Linked DNA regions of Homo sapiens: region 1 is linked to region 2. Evidence: promoter capture Hi-C in 16 types of primary human blood cells and fetal thymus (Javierre and others, 2016). All regions are on one chromosome and are shown on one strand. Each heading gives the region's core, a stretch centred on a gene start or on the middle of the fragment in contact. The rest is flanking DNA. Distances are from core to core; before and after follow the strand shown.

Region 1 (4,503 bases), core at 1,755-4,254, 1.1 Mb before region 2:
TTGGGCAGATCACCTGAGGTCAGGAGTTCAAGATCAGCCTGGCCAACATGGCAAAACCTGGTCTCTACTAAAAATACAAAAACAAATTAGCCAGGCTTGGTGGCGCCAATTCCAGCTACTCAGGAGGCTGAGGCAGGAGAATTGCTTGAACCCGAGAGGCAGATGTTGAAATGAACGGAGATCACACCACTGCACTCCAGCCTGGGCAACAGGGTGAGACTCTGCCTCAAAAAAAAAAAAAGAAAAGAAAAGAAATTCTAGTCAGATACATGGTTCTTTTGGTGAAAGCTGTTTGTTTTGGTAGCAAGAACCATCCCACTTCCCTTAGAGTCCTTTCTCTTTCCACACTTCAGACGAATTTGCCTCCTTGCCCTCCTCAAATACACTGTCTTCCTCTAAGTCTCCCTGGAAGACTAGAAAGATCTCTAGGCAGGAAATCTGAATATCTGAGCTTCAGTCTTAGTGTTTATTATGTTGTGTCCTTGGGAAACTCAGTGACCTCTCTGAATTTTATTTTCTAATCTGTGAAATGGGATAATGAAACCTGTATTCTAATGTATTTTCAACAAATATTTATTGAATGTCACCCATATCTCTTCTAGGTATTAGTAATCTGACAGGAAACAAATATCTTGCCCTCATGGAGTTTGCATTCTCATAGGGAAGACAGAGAATATACAAAATAAATAAGTTATATAGTGTGTTTTTAAAATGATCGTAAGTGGGCCAGGCGTCGTGGCTCATGTCTGTAATCCCAGCACTTTGGGAGGCCGAGGCAGGTGGATCACCTGAGATCAGCAGTTCAAGACAAGCCTGGCCAACATGGCAAAACCCCATCTCTATTAAAAATACAAAAAGTAGCAGGGCGTGGTGGCACACTCCTGTAATCCCAGCTACTCGGGAGACTGAGGCAGGATACTTGCTTGAGCCCAGGAGATGGAGGTTGCAGTGAGCCGAGATCATGCCAGTGCATTCCAGCCTGGCAGACAGAGTGAGATTCTGTCAAAAAAAAAAAAAAAAAAAAACTGAGCCCTGAGATATCCTGGTACAAGGATGGAGGAGAGCAGGAGGAACCAGCAAAAGAGAAATTGAAGGAGAAAGACAATGAGTGGTGAAAAAATAGACAAATAGATCAATGACAAACAATAATGACAAATAGATCTAGAGAGACCAGAAATAGACCTGTACAAACATGGTAGTCAAGTAGTCAATCTTTGACAAAGAAGCAAAGGCAACACAATAGAGCAAAGATAGTCTTTTCAACAAATGGAAACAATTGAACAACTGAACTTCCACATGCAAAACAGTGAACCTAGACACAGACACACCCTTCACAAATATTAACTCAAAATGGATCATAGCTCTAAATATAAAATGCAAAACTGTTAAGCTAAAATATAACAGGAGAAAACCTAGATGACCATGGATATGGCAATGACATTTTATTTTATTTTATTACTCAATTAGAAAATGTTAATGAAGGATCAGGCCCAATATTAGCATAAACTACCTCAGTATCAATAAAAGATATTTTTAAAATCAGAAATAATTAAAGTGACACATACCTATTTTGTTTTTTTTATTAACTACATGGGCACCCATGAGAGGATTCTAATGATTCTAATAATCTTAGGATTGTCAGAAGTAACATATGGAAGAAGAAATAAGATAAAAGACCTACAAAAGGCCAGGCACAGTGGCTCACGCCTGCAATCTCAGCACTTTGGGAGGCCAAGGCGGGCGGATCACGAGTTCAGGAGATCGAGACCAACCTGGCTAACATGGTGAAACCCCGTCTCTACTAAAAATACAAAAAATTTGCTGGGCGAGGTGGCACGCGCCTGTAGTCCCAGCTACTCCGGAGGCTGAGGCAGGGGAATTGCTTGAACCCAGGAGGTGGAGGTTGCAGTGAGCTGAGATCTCGCCACTGCACTCCAGCCTGGGCAACAGAGCGAGAGACTCCGTTTCAAAAAAAAAAAAAAAAACCTAAGACAGTTGCTCATAAAGAAAGCAAGAAAGCAACAAAGCTAAGACTCCCACTCAGAGAGTGGGCAGTACTTCCTCTCGCTAGGGGCAGGTCAAAAGGAGGACTCCCACGGGAGCCTAGCTTGGGTCCCAGTTGGCAGAAAAATATAAACAGATGTTCTGTTGGGCGACTCGAATAATTCTTATTTTTATATACAATCTTTCAGAAAAGAACTATAATAATTATGATGTGATACTATTCTAGAGAATAACTAATTGATATTTTTACTTTATTAACCTTTTTTCTTGTGTGCATACAAACATGCACATATACACAGTTTTGGAGGAAAAGACAGTTATAGTTCATAGTTTACTATAAATGCTTATCATCCAACTCAATAGAAATTTTCTACAAATGCGTATCATACAATTCGAGAGAAATCTATGTGCTCCAGAATGTACAAAAGTTATGCAATGTTCCAAAGAGTGTCATTGTCACCTCTGGTTTTTTGTTTTCTTTAAAGACAAGGTTTCACTCTGTCATCCTAGTGCAGTGATGTGATTATGGCTCATTGCAACCTCTGACTCCCAGGCTCAAGCAATCCTTCCACATCAGCCTCCCAAGTAGCTGGGGCTACAGGCGTGTTCCACCACACATGACTAAGCAATCACATTTTAGATAAAACATCAAAGATATGTCCCATGAAAGAAGTAATAAACGTCATTAAAATTTAAAATTCTACTCTGCTAGAGATAATATCAGAAGAGTGAGAAGACACAGATTAAAGAAAATATTTGCAAAAAGCTTATGTAATGAACAACTTATTCAAAATATGCAAAGGACTCTTAAAACTAAACAGCAGGAACACAACCCAATAAAAAAATAGGCTAAAGACCCTAACAGATATTGCTAAAGAAGATATACAGATGGCCAATGAGCATAAGAAAAGATGCTCCACATTATATGTAAACAGACAGATGTATTATTGTTTTAATTGTATTATACCACTCACTACCCACCTATTAGAATGGCCAAAATCTGGAACACTGACCACACCTACACTGGTGAGGTTATGGAGCAACAGAAACTCTCATTCATTGTTGGTGGGAATGAAAAATGGTACAGCTACTTTGGAAGACAGTTTGGTGGTTTCTTACAACACTAGACATACTTTTATTATATGATCCAGCAATCACACCCCTTGGCAACTATGCAAAGGAGCTGAAAACATGTCTACACAAAACCTGCACATAAATGTTTATAGAAGCTTTATTCATAATTGCCAAAAGTTGGAAGTAACCAATATGTCTTTCAGTAGGTAAATGAATAAATATACTACGGTACCTCAGACAATGGAATATTATTCAGCCCTAAAAATAAATGAGTTATTAAAGCATGAAAAGACACGGAGGAATCTTAAATGCTTATTACTAAGTGGAAGACAACCAGGAAAATTGTTACCCTAAAGTCAATTGAAGAAAGTGTTGTAAGAAGGAGAATGTATTAATAGCTGCAGCTATCCCAAGTAAGGTGAGGACTGGGAAATGATTTTAGCCATGTGGAGATAATCGGCGACCTTGTCAAGGCATTATAGGATCACTGACAGTCCTTCAGAGGCTGGTAGGTGGATTAATGTGGTGATAGATGTGCGTGGAAGGTCTCTTCTGATTGTGAAGTAGGAAGTAAAGTCATCAATTGAACACAAGGATGGGAGAGGAGGTGTTGGAGCATTGGCATGAGAGATATGAAATAGTGACTTATTTTTTTTTTTTTTGAGACGGAGTCTCACTGTCTGTCACCCAGGCTGGAGGGCAGTGGCGCCATCTCAGCTCACTGCAACTCCGCCTCCCAGGTTCAAGTTATTCTCCTGCCTCAGCCTCCCGAGTAGCTGGGATTACAGGCGCGAGCCATCACATCTGGCTTTTTTTTTTTTTTTTTTTTAGTAGAGATGGGGTTTCGCCATGTTGGCCAGGCTGGTCTCGAACTCCTAACCTCAGGTGATCTCCCCCCCCGCCTCGGCCTCCAAAGTGCTAGGATTACAGGCTTGGACCACTGCATCCGGCTGAAACAGTGACTTAGAACAAGAGGATTGGGAGTGGACTAATCTAATCGCGTATGGTACAATTTGCCTGGTAGCCTTGAGCACCTACTTGACATTCATTGTCATGAATTTAAAGTGAGGTCTGTCAACTGATTGTTTTTCTTCCGCCATGTTTAGCTGCCCTGGTTGTGGCTTTGCCAAAGGAGTACAAAGTGAGAGAGGCAGGGAAATTGAGAGTGCAGCAAGAACGTGACTCTAACATGTGCTGGGTAAAGAGAGAAGAAAATTCATGAACTGGAGGGAGGAATAGGGAACAGACAACTGAGTCTCCGGGGATTTGTTCCAGCAACAAAAGCAGCCACTAAGCACCAAATAAGTTTCTGATGCATAGAGAGTCAGATAACAAGTAAAGATTAAGACACTATTATGTTTCCCAGGAACTTCTTATTGAAAGAGAGAGACAAATATATAAAAAGTGACAAATACAAACACGGAA
Region 2 (4,264 bases), core at 1,377-3,876:
CTCCCAGTTTACTTTGTAGGAATGATCTGGAAAACTTGGTGAGGACTGACTCACCACTGAAGACTGTGATCATCAATCAGGTTCCCATTGAGAGGACTCTATGACCTGCCATGGCTCCCATTCCACCCTTTATATGCATCTACCACGATGCCTATCTTATACTAGTGGCCTGTAAAACTCTTAATACTAAGATGTGTTATTACCTATTGTCACTGTTTCCTCAAACAATGGCTTAGAAAATGCTGACTTAAGATAACTGATTGATAAACTGGGCTAAGATATTAGACAAAAATTAAATAGAAAAAAAAATCCAGGTTAAACAGTAAGGTGGGTGGCAGGGGGAGGGGGGCTCTAAGATCAGGATATGAAGGTGAAGGGAACACAAGATGAAAGTTGGAACTTGTCCAATGACCTCCCCACCAACAAAAATAAAAAGGCACATAAAAATATTTTTATTTTCTATAAATACATTAGGAAATGTATTTCTTCCCAACCCAGTCCACCCCATTAACTCAATTTTTTCTACATAAAAAAGATGCTAATACCACCCTCACCTGTGACTGCTAAACAGAGAAAGATTGCCTGGACTAGGCATTATCCTCCTAGTTGGAAATAAAGGCCCTTTCTGGGGGCAGGAAGTGGGATTTTCAGGGGACCCTACAGACGTAGGCAGCCAAGAGTCAAACAAAACAAGCATATGCAATAGTCATAATTATGCTAGTATGACAGTATGAATTAGGTGACTCAGCCAGGCACATACAGGAGTTCGGAGTGGGGACAGTGGAAGCCCACAAAACTCCATGTTTGGGCCATCAGTAGACACTTGGTCTGAGAAACACAGTAAAATGTCTGCCCGGGTAGTCACGATCATTCTAGTATGAGGTAGACAGGAAGCAGAGCAGGGCCAGGAAATGGAAGGGGCCACCCAGGCCCTCAGGAGTCCCTGACAAGGGAAGGTCCCTCCATGCTCTCTGAGGGTGGCGGGGCTCCAAAGATCCTGGCCAGGAGCCCTTTGTTGGAGCGGGCCTTGTCCTGGGCAGTTGCCAGGCGAGCCCGTTCACGTCCCCCTGGCCGTGCTGCTTTACGGGCCCTCAGTTCCTGCTCAGTAGGACGCTGGGCAAATGTCCAGGAGCCATCTGGGCGAGCAGGGTCCCCATCGGCCGCAAGAAAGCGTTGTCCCCGTTCCACACTTTGAAGATAGAAGTCGGTCTCACGCTTGGCTTGAGCAACCTCCGCTCTCAAGCGCTGCCTGCGCACCTGGCGCTCAAAGGCGAGGTGCTCGCTGAGGTGGGACCAGGTGAAACGGTGCAAGTACTGTGGGCAGAAAAGAAGAAAAGATCAGGATAGTGCAGATTAGGGAGAAAGATGAGACAAGGGGACAAGGCCAATGAGAGGCCATGGGGATACTTGGGCCAGAGTTGGGGAGAAGGGAGGGTGAGAGGTGTGGCAGAAAGATCTATCTTCTCACCTTGAGGTTCCAAAGATCATAACGGAAGGGGCTGCGCCTGCGGGCACCCATAGGCGTGTTGTGTAGACTGGCCGCCACGCGCTTGGCTATGCGCTTGTCACGGAACTCCACCCATCCCTCGGTGTAGTCCTTGGTGTAGGACCGCTTTTTTCCTCCGGCAGCTGCTGCTGCCTTCTTCTTGCGTCTCACGAACCGGTCTGCGCGCCAAAGACAAAGACCCGTCCAGGACGCCTATGCAGCACTCACTCAAAAGCACCTCCCACTGCCCGCAACGTTCTTCACATCTGCCAGTGGGAGTCCCACCTGAAGAGTTTTTGCCCAGGAGGAAGGGAACTGTAAATCGCACCCTTTCCTCTAGCTAACTCAATTCTTTCCTTAATTGTCCACTCCTTAATCTGGCCAGCCCTGAACGCTGCTTAAAACCGGCACAAGTCCTCAGCCTCAATGTAAAATTGAGGGTGGAAAGAAGAGGGGCGGTTGATCAAATAGTTTCTTGACCTAGGCAGCAATGCTAAAGAGTTATGTTCAGTTTTGTAGAAAAGCTGACGAGACTTTTACTCAGGTTGTATTCATGTAACAAACCAGTAAACAGGTCCGGAAAGAGAGGTGAACAGAGCCGGGATAAGAACACAAATAGTAACAATCCGAGAACTAAAGAACCACCAGACACACTGCGCTACCCACTCTCCCCATATCCCCTCCGCCCGCCCACCCCAGCATCCTCACAGACTGATTCACCAGCCAGGAGCCAAGCACCGCACTCCCCACCCCCAAAATCCAGCAACTCGTGCCTCAGCCTCGCGCAGCGAAGCAACAGGACATGCATGCTTGCACCCCGCCAGCGAGCGACAACCTCCTCCTGTCACCGTCAGGGCCTGCATACTTACCCTCAGCCTGAAAGAAGACGCGTCCGACCTCGCCATAGGCGCTGAGAAGGTTGCGGACGTGCAGGGGCCGGAAGCGCGGCGGGATATGGCCCAGGTACACAATACCTGGCACTACCCGTTTCTTGCTGCCACAGGCCGCTTCTTCGGATTCCTCCTGCTCCTCCTCCGCATCTAGTGTCTGTTCTGTCCCTTCCAGCGGCTCTTGCTCCGTTGCGGCCTTCTCCGATTCCTCTGCCTCCATGTTGACTGACACGAGCGGCACGACGGCCGTAAAGTGCCTTGCCAACTGACGCAAAACGCGTGCGACGGCCTGAGACGAGGGGGCGGGTCCAAGGTGGTGATGACAAATGAAAGGAAATGATTGGGCAATACAGTCGGGTCCAGGGGAAGGCCGAGGGGAGAGGGAGGAAGTGGTGTGTCAGGTCGGAAGCCTGATTCAGAGCGTGGAAGCGGGATGGGAAACTTGGGTTAGGCTCAGATTCCCGGTCAGATCTCCAACTCAGGACAGGCAGAACCAGAAAAGGCAGATCCCCAAATATAACCTACCCTATAGAACGCCTTGTCGAGACGCTAAAAGGCGGGTTGATGCCGGCTTTTTAGGGAATTTTGCAGAACAATTTTAGAGAAGTTTCTATGTGTTCTAGCGATCAAAATAGCATTTTATTCAAGGGCCCCGGGTGCGATTCCAGCTGAGGAATGACTCACCTTTTAAAGTTTATAAATTTCATTTAAAAATTTTGAGTTTTGAGGTTTTAACTATTTCTGGAAATTTACCTCGGAATTTTGAATATTTTAAAATTTAATTTTGAAAACAGTTCAACTTTGGAAATTTAATTAGATTTAATTTTTGAAAATTTAAGTTGTGAACTTTCAGTTTAATATTTTACATTTGATTTTGTGAATGTCTGAAAATTTAAATGTGTGACAATTATTTGAAGAATTTGTTTGGCATCTATTACACGTGTGTATTGATACATTATCCATATGCATACTTATGTTGCAAATACTTGTCAGAGGCGCACAAGCCTCCAATTCTGGCGACCCCCCGGCGGCGCGCTTATTTCTGCTCTCCCTGGGTCTGTCCTCAGATTCCCTATCAGATCACAAACCACTTTTCCTTCTATGACCTACGCAACCGCAGAACGGACCGGGCCACGGCGGTCCTGCTCCCACCAGGCGGCCTGCGGACCATCCCTAAGCCAAGCTCAGGGCAGTTTTCCCCGCGCGGGCTCGGGTCCTCAGTCTCTTATCGTCGCCCGAGGGCGCGACCAGCAGGGGGCGCCGTCCCCACCCTTGAGGCGTTTCAGTTCTTCCCATCGGCGCCAGCGACAAGCTGACTGCAAAGGACAGTGCTGGGAACCGCGTACAAGTAATCCGGTTAGCTTTCTGGAAGCAGCCCGGGGCGAGTTTGATGACTATCAACATAAATCCGTCCTTGCTGCGGCCTGACAAAATTTCCCATCTCGCTCCAAGAGCGCAGAGTAGCCCAGAGAATGGAAGCAGGGAGTAAATGTGTCCACTATTAAAATCAGAGATGACAGTTTTTGCCAGTCCCCAAGTATATTTCTAAAGTAACAGGGCCCTGCACTCTTTCATGGAGTGTCTAAAAGTCTAATAATAGACTTCTCGAATTCAAACACGCCTGTTTCATTAACTTTATTGAAGAGAACTTTCTGTCAGGTAGGTGTCCACTGCTCCTTTTTTGAAGAGGAGCGGGGTACGATGAGAGCGATAAACTCCGTCTACTGCTATTTAATTATAAACACTGACATCTTCAAAACACAGTACAGTTAATGAAATGAGAACACGTGTTGGGGTGGCTTTAAAAGATCTGGAGCTAGGGGAGGGGCATGATGGATGCAAGAGTGTCGGTAAGTTGTGCCAGTGTGGTGGCTAATGGTAGCTATTA

Evidence for each region. The method cuts DNA at HindIII sites, captures the fragments that hold promoters and counts their contacts. A CHiCAGO score of 5 or more calls a contact.
Region 1: a contact is called between a fragment that was not itself captured here and the fragment with the promoter of ABT1 in region 2, in 1 of 17 cell types (total B cells). The highest score is 7.2, in total B cells.

What each region holds. Positions count from the first base shown.
Region 1 is chr6:27,672,617-27,677,119 of GRCh38, reverse strand. No RefSeq gene overlaps it. Among named protein-coding and RNA genes, the nearest start is that of TRS-CGA3-1, 2.3 kb to the right of the region's middle. The HindIII fragment of the contact is 463 bases long and covers 2,773-3,235 here.
Region 2 is chr6:26,595,315-26,599,578 of GRCh38, reverse strand. It overlaps ABT1 (activator of basal transcription 1), which reads right to left and starts at 2,626. Exons shown (of 3, transcript NM_013375.4): 1 at 2,356-2,626; 2 at 1,469-1,665; 3 at 1-1,314. The coding sequence starts at 2,596. The coding sequence ends at 934. RefSeq lists enhancers at 2,338-2,777, 3,335-3,494, 3,595-3,744. The HindIII fragment of the contact is 8,276 bases long and covers 1-4,264 here.